Regions from separate parts of the Homo sapiens genome. Here region 2 is linked to region 1. Evidence: promoter capture Hi-C in human tissues and cell types (Jung and others, 2019). All regions are on one chromosome and are shown on one strand. Each heading gives the region's core, a stretch centred on a gene start or on the middle of the fragment in contact. The rest is flanking DNA. Distances are from core to core; before and after follow the strand shown. Region 1 holds the start of FA2H (fatty acid 2-hydroxylase). Region 2 overlaps CFDP1 (craniofacial development protein 1).

Evidence for each region. Contacts are between HindIII fragments. The study calls those that stand out against the background at their distance.
Region 2: a contact is called between a fragment that was not itself captured here and the fragment with the promoter of FA2H in region 1, in 1 of the 25 tissues and cell types used here (spleen).

The regions. Positions count from the first base shown.
Region 1 is chr16:74,773,297-74,780,180 of GRCh38, forward strand. FA2H (fatty acid 2-hydroxylase) reads right to left here and starts at 1,524. Exons shown (of 7, transcript NM_024306.5): 1 at 1,190-1,524. The coding sequence starts at 1,459. RefSeq lists silencers at 1,161-1,210, 1,251-1,620, 1,631-1,760, 1,771-1,830. The HindIII fragment of the contact is 21,235 bases long and covers 1-6,884 here.
Region 2 is chr16:75,396,030-75,402,874 of GRCh38, forward strand. The region is part of intron 4 of CFDP1 (craniofacial development protein 1); the gene reads right to left. Among named protein-coding and RNA genes, the nearest start is that of CFDP1, 34 kb to the right of the region's middle. The HindIII fragment of the contact is 4,741 bases long and covers 557-5,297 here.

The DNA of each region.
Region 1 (6,884 bases), core at 274-2,773:
TGTTGTTGTTAATCTCTTCCTATTGTTCTTAATTTATAAATTTAACTTTATCATAGATATGCATATATGGGAAAAAACATAGCATATATAGGATTCGGTACTATCTGTGGTTTTAAGGATCCACTGAGGGTCTTGAAATGTATCCCCTTGGACAAGGGGGAACTACTGTATATCTAAGCATGATGGCCCCATACCAGTCCCAGAGCCAGGCCTGGGGAACATCAAGAGAGTCGCTTTGCCTCTGGCCTGAGCCTACCTGGAATCCTGTGGACTAGGTCTGTCTCCTCCACCCGAAGACTTTTGGGATGGAGCCAGCATTGATTTTGGAGTCAGATACATGTGGCTTTCCCACTATTTAGCTATTTGACCTTAGGCGCATTAATCAGAGCCTCCCTGAGCCTCAGATTCCATATCCTGAAATGGGAATAACAAAACCTGCCCCAGGTTGAGTTAAGGACTTAAATACCATCGGGAGCTGGTACTGCACAGAAGCGTGCAGCTCAGCACACAGTCTGGTCCAAAGTGCTGGTCCCTTTTCCTTGGCAAAACTGGCTCATGCCTTTCATTTCACTCTTTTGGAGTCCCAAGCCAGCGTGTAGGACAAGAATATAAGGGAAGGTCTGAGAGGTTGGAGGACACAGTCCACCCCAGACATGGCCCAGGCAAGGCCAGGGCGGCACCAGGAAACCCAAGCTAGTGAGAAGAGTTACTGATCTGTGCCTCTTTGAAGCAGAAGTGAGGTGGGATGGGGAGGTGGGAACAGGTTGAGCCCATTATCCAAACAGAAACGGAGAGTGGTTGCAAAGAGGGAGAGGCCGATAAGTGAAGAGGAAGGAAAGCCGAGGCGTATGGGGGGCTGGGGACAGAAACGGGAATCCAGGTTGTCGGAGGGCAGGGGCTGCAGAAGGAACACGCTGGAAGGAGGGGTGCTGGGGAAATGGGAGAGCTGGCACGGAGGCGGGCCAGGCGGTAAGGGTGGAAAGGAAGAGCAAGTTCCTGGAGAGAGGAAGGAGGGGTTGGAGGGGACGACAGTGACCTGTTGCCTGGAGAGAAGAGAGGGAAAGCGAGGGAAGGGAGGGCAGAAGCTGTCACCTTGGGTCCTGCTAGAGGGCAAGTGAACGGGGCTCGCCCGGGAGTGGAAGGCTGACGGAGGCCTGGGTTGGGGTGGGGGGCCCCGGCCCGGCTGTACCTGCTGCTCCCCGCGGAGCTCTCCCACGTAGTACTGCTCCAGCCAGCGGCGCGCGTTGGCCGAGTGCCTGTGCGGCGGCCCGTCCAGGTCGGCGCTGATGTCCTGGCCCGCCCTGGCCCGCAGCAGCTGCTCGCCCCCCGGGTGGTGCCGCACGAAGCTGGAGAGGTCGTAGAGGCGGGCCCCGCGGCGGACCCAGCACGCGCCGGCCGCCAGGCGCCGCTGGACCTCGGAGGGCGAGAAGGAGGCGGCGGGGGGCGGAGCGGGGGCCATGGCCGGAGACCGCAGCTCCCAGCGCGCAGCCCGGCGTCTGCTCTGCTGCCACCCTGAGCGCCTCTAACATCCCGGGAGCCCCGCGGCCGTTCCGGGCGGGCCGCCACCGCACCTGCTCATTTGCATACCGCGCTCCCATTGGCCGGCCGGGAGCCCCGGCAGAGCCGCGAGGGGCGGGCCCGGCGCCGGGAGCTGCGCGCCAGGTGGCCGCGGACAGGGAGTGCCGCGCCCGCCAGGTGTGTCCCGCGCGGGAGGAGGGTGGGCGGACACAGGCGGAGCGAGTCTCCCCGTCGCGGGTGGTTGTCTGGGCGGACATCCTCGGTGGCCTGATCGCTGCTGGAATAACTTCAACTGCTTCCACGGAGGAGCTGGCCGCATGGGACCCTCTGGCTCCAGGAGGTGCCCGAGAGAGCGAGAGGCGAATGAGGTGCTCGCCTCGGGTGCAAATATTTGTTTGTTTTTAAAATTTCAGTAGCTTTTGGGGTACCAGTGGTTTTTGGTTACATGGAGGAATTGTATAGTGGTAAGTCCTGAGATTTTAGTCCACCTGTCCCCCGAGTAGTGTACATTATACCCAATGTGTAGGGTTTTGTGTGTGTGTGTGTGTTACACCCCCTCCCATTCTCCCTATTGTCCATTATATCACTCTGTATGCCTTTGCGTCCTCATAGCTTAGTTCCTACTTATGAGTGAGAACATACAGTGTTTGGTTTTCCATTCCTGAATCACTTTCACTTAGAATAATGGCCTCCAGCTCCATGCAAGTTGCTGCAAAAGACTTCATTTCGTTCCTTTTTATGGCTGAGTAGTATTCTATCGTGTATATCAACTACATTTTCTTTATCCACTCATTGGTTGATGGTTATTTAAGTTGGTTCCATATCTTTTCGATTGTGAATTGGGCTGCAAAAAACAAACATTCGTGTGCAAGTGTCTTTTTCATATAATGACTCTTTTCCTTTGGGTAGATACCCAGTGGTGGGATTGCTGGACCGAATGGTGAATCTACTTTTTCTCTCCTCCCCTCCCCTCCCCTCCCCTTCCCTTCCTTTCCCTTCCCTTCCCGTGACAAGGTCTCACTCTGTCACCCAGGCTGGAGAGTAGTGGTGCGATCTTGGTTCACTGCAGCCTCGACCTCCCGGGCTCAAGCAATCCTCTTACCTCAGCCTCCCAAGTAGCTGGCACTACAGGCATGCACCACTACGCCTGGCTAATTTTTGTATTTTTTGTAGAGACGAGGTTTCACCATGCTGCCCAGGATGGTCTCAAACTCCTGGGCTCAAGCGATTTGCCTGCCATGGCCTCCCATAGTGCACTTTTTTTTTTTTTTTTTGAGACAGAGTCTCACTCTGTTGCCCAGGCTGAAGTGCAGTGGCACAATCTCAGCTCACTGCTACCTCCGCCTCCCGGGTTCAAGCGATTCTCCTGCCTCAGCCTCCAGAGTAGCTATGACTATAGGCGCGTGCCACCACGCCCGGCTAATTTTTTTGTATTTTTAGTAGAGACGGGGTTTCACCATGTTGGCCAGGTTGGTCTCGAACTCCTGGCCTCTAGTGATCCTCCCGCCGCAGCCTCCCAAAATGCTGGGATTACAGGCGTGAGCCACCGCGCCCAGCCCCAAAGTGTACTTTTAGTTTGTTAAAGAATCTCTGTACTGTTTTCCAAACAAGTTGTACTAATTTACATTCCCACCAGCAGTGCATAGCATAAGCATCCCCCTTTCACTACATACACGCAGACATCTACTGTTTCTTGACTTTTTAATAATGTTCGAGGGCAAAATTTAATGGGGCACCCCAAAACTCAGTCATCACTATATCTAATACCTGAACGTAATATTTAAAAAATTATATTGTTGGCTGGGTGCGGTAACTCACACCTGTAATCCCAGCACTTTGGGAGGCCGAGGTGGGCGAATCACGAGGTCAAGAGATCGAGACCATCTTGGCCAACATAGTGAAACCCCATCTCTACTAAAAATACAAAAATTAGCTGGCTGTGGAGGCACGCATCTGTAGTCCTAGCTACTTGGGAGGCTGAGGCAGGGGAATCGCTTGAATCTGGGAGTTGGAGGTTGCAGTGAGCCGAGAACGCCCCACCACACTCCAGCCTGGCGAGAAAGAGAGACTCTGTCTCAAAAAAAAAATTATTTTGTTGCACAATGTGAATGTTCTTAATGCCACTGAACTGTACACTGAAAATGGTTGGAATGGTAAATTTATATTATGTATATTTTACCGCAATACAAAATATTTAAGAATGTTTTAAAAAATCACATTGTCAAAAGACAGGGGTGAGGGGTGGGGTTGGGGGCGTGGCATTGGCCACCTGTTTTTGTAAATAAAGTTTTATTGGAACCAGGGCCAGGGATTCCTGAGACAGGGATGTGAAAGTGCAGGGTTAGCTCCTGTTTTTATTTAAAATTTTGATATTTTGTCCATCATGGATTTTTTTGCATTAATCTTGAAGTTTTACAATACTGCATTAAAATATTATTTATCTTGGTTACTTTTTTTTGTTTGTTTTTTGGCATGCCTGTAGATTTTGCTCTCAGGGTTAGTGCCTCACTCCCTCACTCTAATCCTGGGCCCTGGGGAAGGACCTGAGGGGAGAACAGAGAACACTGTCTCCATTACAGAAGGGGAAGTAGGGGCCTACAGGAGTAAAGGCTGGGGGTGATGCTGTGTGGAAAGGAGGACTGAATTTGTTCATCACAGTTTTGTTTAGAACAGGAAAAACTTGGTTGGACATGGTGGCTCATGCCTGTAATCCCAACCCTTTGGGAGGCCAAGGCAGGAGGATCGCTTGAGCCCAGGAGTTCAAGACCAGCCTGGGCAACAAAGCAATACCTCGTCTCTACAAAAAAATTTTTTTTTTAAATTGAGGCCAGGCCGGGCGCGGTGGCTCATGCCTGTAGTCCCAGCACTTTGGGAGGCCGAGGTGGGCGGATCACCTGAGGTCGGGAGTTTGAGACCAGCCTGACCAACATGGAGAAACTCTATCTCTACTAAAAATAAAAAATTAGCCAGGCATGGTGGTGCCTGCCTGTAATCTCAGCTACTCAGGAAGGCTGAGGCAGGAGAATCATTTGAACCCGGGAGGCAGAGGTTGCAGTGAGATTGTGCCATTGCACTCCAGCCTGGGCAACAAGAGCGAAACTCTGTCTCAAAAAAAAAAAAAAAAAAAATTGAGGCCAGGTGCGGTGGCTCACACCTGTAATCCTAGCACTTTGGGAGGCCAAGGCAGGCAGATCCCCTGAGGTCAGGAGTTTGAGACCAGCCTGGCGAACATGGTGAAACCCTGTCTCTACTAAAAATACAAGAAAATTAGTCGGGCGCAGTGGCATGCCCCTGTAGTCCCAGCTACTTAGAAGACTGAGGCTGGAGAATCGCTTGAACCCAGGCGTCAGATGTTGCAGTGAGTGGAGATTGCACCACTGCACTCCAGCCTGTGTGACAGAGCGAGGCTCCATCTCAAAAATAATTGGATAAATAAATAATTTAAAAAATTAGCCAGTTGTAGTGATGCAGGCTTATCGTCCCAGCTACTGGGGAGGCTGAGGCCAAAGGATCTCTTGAGTCCAGGAGTTTGAGGCTGCAGTATCCTATGACTGCACCACTGCACTCCAGCCTGGGCAACAGAGTGAGCTCCATCTCTTAAACAGAAAACAAAAAGCAGAAAAGCCACACCCAGCTTTACTTGCTCAGCCACAGGGGATCCCACTTGAACTCATGATTTGTAATCAAATGCTCCTGGTACAGAGGCTAACCCATCCAGCTGGCTTTGTCTCTTTCAGGAAAGATATTTTAAGGATCATCTCCATTTGTGCCCTTCTGGGGCCAGGCATCTGTGCTGGGCCAGTTCAAGTATGGGAAGCCTGGCCCAGATGCCTCAGGGGTCCCCAGGTCAGAAGAGCCGCCCCTCTTCCCTCTCCCTTCTCTTCGGACTGACCCTCAGGGAGTAGGCGAGAGTTTTGCTGTCTGTGGGTCTATGGAGCACCTGTCCGTCAGGCCTAGAGGCCTCACATCAACAGAGTTGTTGCTTTTCTCAAGCGGTGAATGCATAAGTAGTCACCTTTACCCAACTTCCACACCTACTCTGCTGCAAATCCCGTTCATGTGCCAAAGCAGCCAAGCGCACAGTCGCAGGTGTACTCAGGCACTTCTTGCTGACAGTATCTGTGGGCACTCCCATTTGGATTTCTCACCATGGCTGTGAACTCCCAGTGTTTACAGTTGAACAAATGATTTGGCCATCTGTTCAGAATTGTAACACTCACAGTTCTTGCCCTAGTTATTTCCACTTCTAGAAATTTAATCTTACAGATATACTATATCAAGATGCATGAACAATAACATTAATTGCAACCTCATTTATAGACTAGAAATGATCAAATGTTCATCATGAGGGAGGACTGATTAAATAAACTATGGTATATTCAGACAGTGAAATACTATGTAGCCATTAGAAAAAATGAGGTAGATCTATGTGTACTAATTTAGAATAATCTCCAGAGTATTGTAGGGGAAAACAACAGGAATGGTGTGTATGGCATGCTAAAAACTAGTTTGCTATTTTTAATTATTTAATCTTTAAGATATTTTTATGAAAACAAAAACATATATGTAATTTTTAAAGCAAAAAGTTTCCTTAACTCCTTGAATCTTCCTCCTAACTCAAGAGCTAGGACATTACCAAAAACTTGCACCTACTACTGTACCCCAAACCTTTCACCTCTCTGCCTATTGGTTACAAAGACATAAAATTTTCCCTGATGTTTATGCTCATCCTTCCTTTGAAACAGAATTGAGTCCTGTCCCCAGGCTGGAGTGCAGTGCTGTGATCTTGGCTCAGTGCAACCTCTGCCTTCTAGGTTGAAGCAATTCTCATACCTCAGCCTCCCAAGTAACTGGATTACAGGCTTCTGCCGTCACACCCAGCTAATTTTTTTATTTTTGTAGAGATGAGGTTTCACCATTTTGGCCAGGCTGGTCTTGAACTCCTGACCTCAGGTGATCTGCCCACCTCGGCGTCCCAAAGTGCTAGGATTACAGGCGTGAGCCACCGCGCCCAGTCTGCTTTTAGTTTTAATATTTTTAGCACACCTAAGTGTGTGCCTATAGAATGTATTATTTAGATCAGCTTGGTTTTGATTTTATGAAAATCATGTGATACTCTATTTAGCTTTATGTGGCCGTGCATGCTTTATTTATTTGAAGATTCATCCGACACTCCATCCAGTGTTGAGGATCACTTTTTTTTTTTTTTTTTGGAAACAGAGTCTTACTCTGTCGCCCAGGCTGGAGTGCAGAGGTGCAATCTGAGCCCATTTCAACCTCCGTCTCCTGGGTTCAACCAATTATTCTGCCTCAGCCTGCTGAGTAGCTGGGATGACAGGCACGTGCTACCACACCAGTTTTCACTG
Region 2 (6,845 bases), core at 1,677-4,176, 620 kb after region 1:
GCATGAAACACACTGCAGCAGTCAATACTAAATCTCCATGCTGGTTTACTGATGTGAAGGCTGAAAAAGGCCCTCACACTGCACCCCACATGCAGATTAGCACTCAGCCTTGAAAGCTGAGATGGGGAGATGGAATACTGGGAATATAGGTTATAGAATTGGGAAATAATGCCTAGGTTGGCACTATTTCAAGGAGAAAAACAAGAGTTAAAAAAAAAAATTTGAGGAGACCAGGCACAGTGGCCCATGCCTGTAATCCCAGCACTTTGGGAGGCCAAGGCAGGCGGACCACGAAGTCATGAGTTTGAGACCAGCCTGGCCAACATGGTGAAACCCTGTCTCTACTAAAAATACAAAAAATTAGCCAGGCATAGTGGCAGGCGCCTGTAATCACAGCTACTAGGGAGGCTGAGGCAGGAGAATTGCCTGAACCCAGGAGGTGGAGGTTGCAGTGAGCTCAGACCACGCCACTGCACTTCAGCCTGGGCAACAGAGCGAGACTCTGTCTCAAAAATAAATAAATAAATTGAGAAGACTCTGCAGAAGGCTCCTGTTTTATATCCAAAACAACCCAAAGATGAAACAAAAACTGGCTAAATTAGCAATAATTTGGGAATGGACGAAAGCAACATGACTGAGAATTTTGTCTAACTTCAAATCTGAAAAAATTATCTTCACTAAAACTGAGTCCTAAAGGCTCAAATAAAGGTATTTATGGTACCTGAGAATTCAGATAAAGAGAGAAAGAGAAATGTTTAATCCCTGCCCAGGCTTTCCAGGTTAACAAAAACACCTGAGGAATTTTGTTTAAATGCAGTCTATTATGGCCGGCCTCAGTGGCCTCTTTTGTAGTCCTCTGAGAAGTTTTTTCTTGTTTTTTGTTTGTTTGTTTGTTTTCATTTGAGATGGAGTCTCGCTCTGTCGCCTAGGCTGGAGTGCAGTGGCGCAATCTCGGCTCACTGCAACCTCTGCCTCCTGGGTTCATGCCATTCTCCTGCCTCAGCCTCCCAAGCAGCTGGGACTACGGGTGCCCGCCACCACGCCCAGCTAATTTTTTTGTATTTTTAGTAGAGATGGGGTTTCACCGTGTTAGCCAGGATGGTCTTGATCTCCTGACCTTGTGATCTGCCCGCCTTGGCCTCCCAAAGTGCTGGGATTACAGGCGTGAGCCACTGCGCCCAGCGTTTTTTTGTTTTAAAACCAGGCCAGGTACAGTGGCTCATGCCTGTAATCCCAGCATTTTGGGAGGCCAAAGTGGGCAGATCATTTGAGGTCAGGAGTTCGAGACCAGCCTGGCCAACATGATGAAACCCCATCTCTACTAAAAATACAAAAGTTAACTGAGTGTGGTGGTGCATGCCTGTAACTCCAGCTACTTAGGAGGCTGAATCACTTGAACCTGGGAGGCAGAGGTTGCAGTGAGCCAAGATAGCATCACTGCACTCCAGCCCTGACAACAGAGCAAGACTCCGTCTCAAAAAGAAAACAACAGGCCGGGGGCAGTGGCTCACGCCTGTAATCCCAGCACTTTGGGAGACTGAGGCGGGCAGATTATGAGGTCAGGAGTTCGAGACCAGCCAGGCCAACATGGTGAAACCCTGTCTCTACTAAAAAAAGTAAAAAAAATTAGCCGGGCATAGTGGCAGGTACACCTGTATCCTAGCTACTCGGGAGGCTGAGGCAGGAGAACCTCATGAACCCAGAAGGTGGAGGCTGCAGTCAGCCGAGATCCCGCCACTGCACTCCAGCCTGGGCGACAGCGAGACTCCGTCTCAAAAAATAAATAAATAAATAAAAATAAAAGAACAAAACAAAACAAATCCTTCCCTACTCCACTGATGCTGAGCTTGGATACACGACTTGCTACAAAGGCCAATGAAGTATTAGCTGATCTGAGAGGAACAGAAGCTTAAACATGTTTGTGCTGTTTCTCTTGCCCCTTGAATTCATCCCTTGAGTCATAAGGAGAATACACCTCAACTGGCTGCTGGTCCAAGATGGCAGAAAGACACATGCTGTAGACCTGAACCCAACAAACAAGCAGCTTGGAGCTTAGCTGAGCCGAGTCTAAATCACTCAATCTCAGATACTCAGAGGCAAAAGGCAACAAGTAAATGCTTATCATTGTACATCACTGAGTTTTGGAATGGTGTGCTACACAGCACTACTGTAGCAAGAGCTGACTGACACATTTACATTTTGTGAGTAAGAAAACTGAAATATAAGGTTGCGTTACTTATTCAAGGCTATCCTGAGATTAAGCAGCAATGCTATAGAGAACCCTATAGCAGACAGGATATTCCAAAGATGGTTGCCACAAATTTCCCATCCCCACATGCTCTTCCAGAACCCTGATACTACCCCAGTTAGAGGGGGAGTCTGTGTCATCACCCCTTGAAAGTGAATGGGCCTTCATGGCTGTCTCAACTCAAAGAGTTCTGTGGAAGTGGCACAACATGACTTCCACAGGCTAGCAAATAAAAGATAATACAGCTTCCACCTGGCATGCTTCCACCTGGCATGCTCTGTCTGTCTGTCTGTCCCTGTGTCTGTCTCTCTCAAGAATGCACCTTTGAAACTCCAAGTTACCACAAAAGAAGTCTGGCTACTCTGCAGCCACTATGTTGGAGAGATCATATGGGAAGATCACACAGAAACAGACGTCTGAGAAGCCTGTACCAACCCCTGGGTGTTTGAGCCTTCCCAGCTCTGGCATCAGACGTGGGAGTAAGAAAACCTGTGAAGGCTGGGCGTGGTGGTCATGCCTGTAATCCCAGCACTTTGGGAGGCTGAGGCGGGCAGATCACGAGGTCAGGAGATTGAGACCACCCTGGCTAACACGGTGAAACCCCGTCTCTACTAAAAAATACAAAAAAAATTAGCCAGGCATGGTGGCGGGCGCCTGTAGTCCCAGCTACTCGGGAGGCTGAGGCAGGAGAATAGTGGGAACCCGGGAGGTGGAGCTTGCAGTGAGCCGAAATCATGCCACTGCACTTCAGCCTGGGAGACAGAGCGAGACTCCGTCTCAAAAAAAAAAAAAAAAAAAAAAAGAAAACCTGTGAAGTGGTTCCACACTTAGCCACTGTCTGATTACAACTGTACAAGAGACCCTGAGTAAGAACTGCCTAGCTGAGCCCAGCCACCCCTGGAACCAAGAGAAATTATAATAAAACAATTATTTTTTAAAGCCACTAAATTTTGAGGTGCTTTCTTACACTGTTGTAAAAATAACCAAAATAAACCCACATCCAAATCTCAGGCTTAATGCAGGGTTCTGGAGTACTAAACTAGAAAGGGTACCTTTAAATTTCCTTGCTCTGGGTAGAATCTGGGGCAGACCAGCTAATGAAGAACAAGTAGAAACTGCCACTTACATATAGTAATCTGAACACATGCTTTATTCCAGTCCTGCCAAAACCCTACTAAATAGTGGCAAATAAATTTAAAAAGATGAAACTACACAAGGATAATGAGAAGAAGTATAACAGAAAAGGGATGCCAACAGAATTTTCTTCTTCTTTTTTTTTGTTTTAAAGACAGAGTCTCACCATGTTGCCTGGGCTGGATTCAAACTCCTGGGCTCAAGTGGTCCTCCTGCCTTGGCCTCCCAGTGCTGGGATTACAGGCATGAGCCACTGCGCCCAGCCCAAATTTTCTGACAGTAGAAAGCAGCCAGGTGCAGTAGCTCGGGCCTGTAATTCCAGCACTTTGGGAGGCCAAGGGCGGGAGGATTACTTGAGCCCTGGGCAACATGGCAAGACCCTAACTCTACAAAAAATTTTTTAAAATCGGCTGGGCGTGGTGGCTCACGCCTGTAACCCCAGCATTTTGGGAGGCCAAGGCAGGCGGATCACCTGAGGTTGGGAGTTCGAGACCAGCCTGATCAACATGGAGAAACCCCATCTCTATCAAAAATACAAAATTAGCCAGTGGTGGTGGCACATGCCTGTAATCCCAGCTGCTTGGGAGGCTGAGGCAGCAGAATCGCTTGAACCCAGGAGGTGGAGGTTGCGGTGAGCCGAGATCGTGCCATTGCACTCCAGCCTGGGCAACAAGAGCAAAACTCCATCTCAAAAAAAAAAAAAAAAAAAGGAAAAAAAAAATCAGCCAGGCATCATGGCGTGCACCTGTAGTCCTAGATGCTTGGGAGGCTGAAGCAGAAGGATCGCTTGAAGCCAGGAGTTCAAGGTTACAGTGAGCTATTATCGTGGAACTATACAGCCTAGGCAACAGAGTGAGACCCTGTCTCAAAACAAAAAACAAAACAAAACAAAAAAGAAGGTAGAAAGCAAGTAGACAAGTAATAACTGGCTTTGGTTTTTGTTTTCTCTGATCTCCTAAGCCTACAGCCATGTGGAATGGCCAAAAACAGGCAAGCCAATGTGTACTAAAGTACCCTAGAAAGGCTCATTAAATTGAGACACCAGGAACCTTTCGAGGTAGAGGAAAGGAATAGGGCTAAAACCAGTTGGAATTATCCATCAGGAGCAGCTAGGCCCCAGATCCCCTTCAGCAGCACCTCATACCACAGGCTACTGCTCTACCCCATCCCCAATCCAGCAGAACCCATTACTCTGGAGAAATGAAAACCACGGAAGTTCCAGACTCAAAAGGCATGGCTGAAGTCCATTCTGAGAAAAGAGGAATTATATGAAAATCTATGTATTCATTCTTCCTTTGCCAGAGCAACCCTGAAGCCTAGGTGTTCTGTACAACTGAGTTACAAGATGGAGTGCTACGAAACTCATATTGGACTTTATACCAGTAAGAAATAATGTACTGTATTATGCTACTGAGTTGCTGAGTTTGTTACCTCAGCCTAGACTGCCCTGGCCTGTCATATCAATTCTACTAATATGAATCTCATAAAAACAGAAAATAGGGGGAAGTTGTCAACAATAACAGAAAATGTCCTAGAAGTGAAGGATAGGCTTCCATAAAAAAGAGCCACAGAACACTGGATGCAGCTAATTTAAAAGCATCCAGCTTGACACAGTGGCTCACACCTGTAATCCCAGCACTTTGGGAGGCCGAGGTGGGCAGATAGTGAGGTCAGGAGTTCCAGACCAGCCTGGCAACATGGTGAAACCCTGTCTCTATTAAGAAATACAAAAATTGGCTGGGCGCAGTGGCTCACGCATGTAATCCCAGCACTTTGGGAGGCCGAGGTGGGTGGATCATGAGGTCAGGAAATCAAGACCATGCTGGCTAATACAGTGAAACCCCGTCTCTACTAAAAATACAAAATATTAGCCAGGCTTGGTGGCGAGCGCCTGTAGTCCCTGCTACTCGGGAGGCTGAGGCAGGAGAATGGCGTGAACCAGGGAGATGGAGCTTGCAGTGAGCCAAGATTGCACCACTGCACTCCACCCTGGGCAACAAAGTTAAGACTCCGTCTCAAAAAAAAAAAAAAAAAAAAAATTAGCTGGGCGTGGTAGCAGGTGCCTGTAATCCCAGCTGCTTGGGAGACTGAGCCAGGAGATTCGTTTGAACCCAGGAGGCAGAGGTTTCAGTGAGCTGAGATAGCGCCACTACACTCCAGTCTGGGCGACAAGGTGCGACTCCGTCTCAGAAAAATAAAAAAAAGATTCACATCAAGGCAAATCACTGTGAAGTTTCAGAATGCTGGTGATAGAGAAGATGAAATCAAATGGCCTAAGTGATAGCTTAAGGAAAAGTAGCCTCTAGGTAATGCATGTTTGGTTTTGTTTTTTACTACCTTCATGGAAATGACAAGCCTGGAAAGAGTCACCTGAGACAATTAGGTCAACATTTGCTGAAAAGCAACCTAGATCCAAGCACTGTTAGATGTTGAACATATAAAAAAAAATATGGCATGGCCTTTGCTCTTAAGGAGCTCACAGTTCAGCAGAACAGCCAACCATGAAAGCAAGTCATTGTAATACATGATATATAGTAAGTGGCATAAAAGCAGCATGGAAAAAGTATAAACTGTGGGAGTATCTCTCAAAATTTCTTAGTGCCAAAGTCCTATCTATATTCACTAGGAAACACTGGTATATTTATCTCAGGAACTTTAGTAATTGACACCAAGTAATATTACAGATTACTCTTCATTGACAGTATGCCTAGAACAACTCCACTTTTAACAAGCAATAAGGGATTCAAGTATCAAAATATCTTCAAGCAGGAGAACAGTTAAATTATAGACCACCTCTAACGCACAAGAGGGAACTCTGACAGGAAAAGGCCTATTATTAGTAATAGTTAATTCAAGTGTTCTCAACAGAAATTCCATTTTAACTTTATTTTCACTTGCTCAGAACTTCCTGAAAGTCTTTAATTGGGCAGAAACTTTCCATGACTGGCTTTTTCCAAAAGGTGAATCATTTAGGAAAGTCTGAGCTAACTGGCTCAGCTGGTTATGTGATAGGGCAGAATACAAAATACTATATTCCCCCATTCCCCTAGGTTAATAAGCTAAACATTTTTCAAGTAGGGACAAAAACAAAATGAAATGATCAAAGCCCAAAATTTAACATTAAAATACAGTTAGAAAACTGAAGACTAACTTTGTGCTAACACTACCTTACACTTAGACCTACAAATTCCTTCCTGTCATCACCAGCTCTTCTCACATTTCTTGAAGATGTAGTAATGCTCTTAACTTGATACAGAGAGAAAAAGGAGAATAATGACATGAAGAAATTAAAAGATATGCTCAAATCCATACAACAAATTTGTATCTGTTATCAATGAAAATTCAGATCTCGTAAGTCCCCTTATGAGAATTCCTTATAATGCCTAAATTTAAGTATAAATAAATTAAGTTTAAAAAAATCCTGTCAACATGCCCACTATTAACAGGGTTTTTGTTTTCTTTA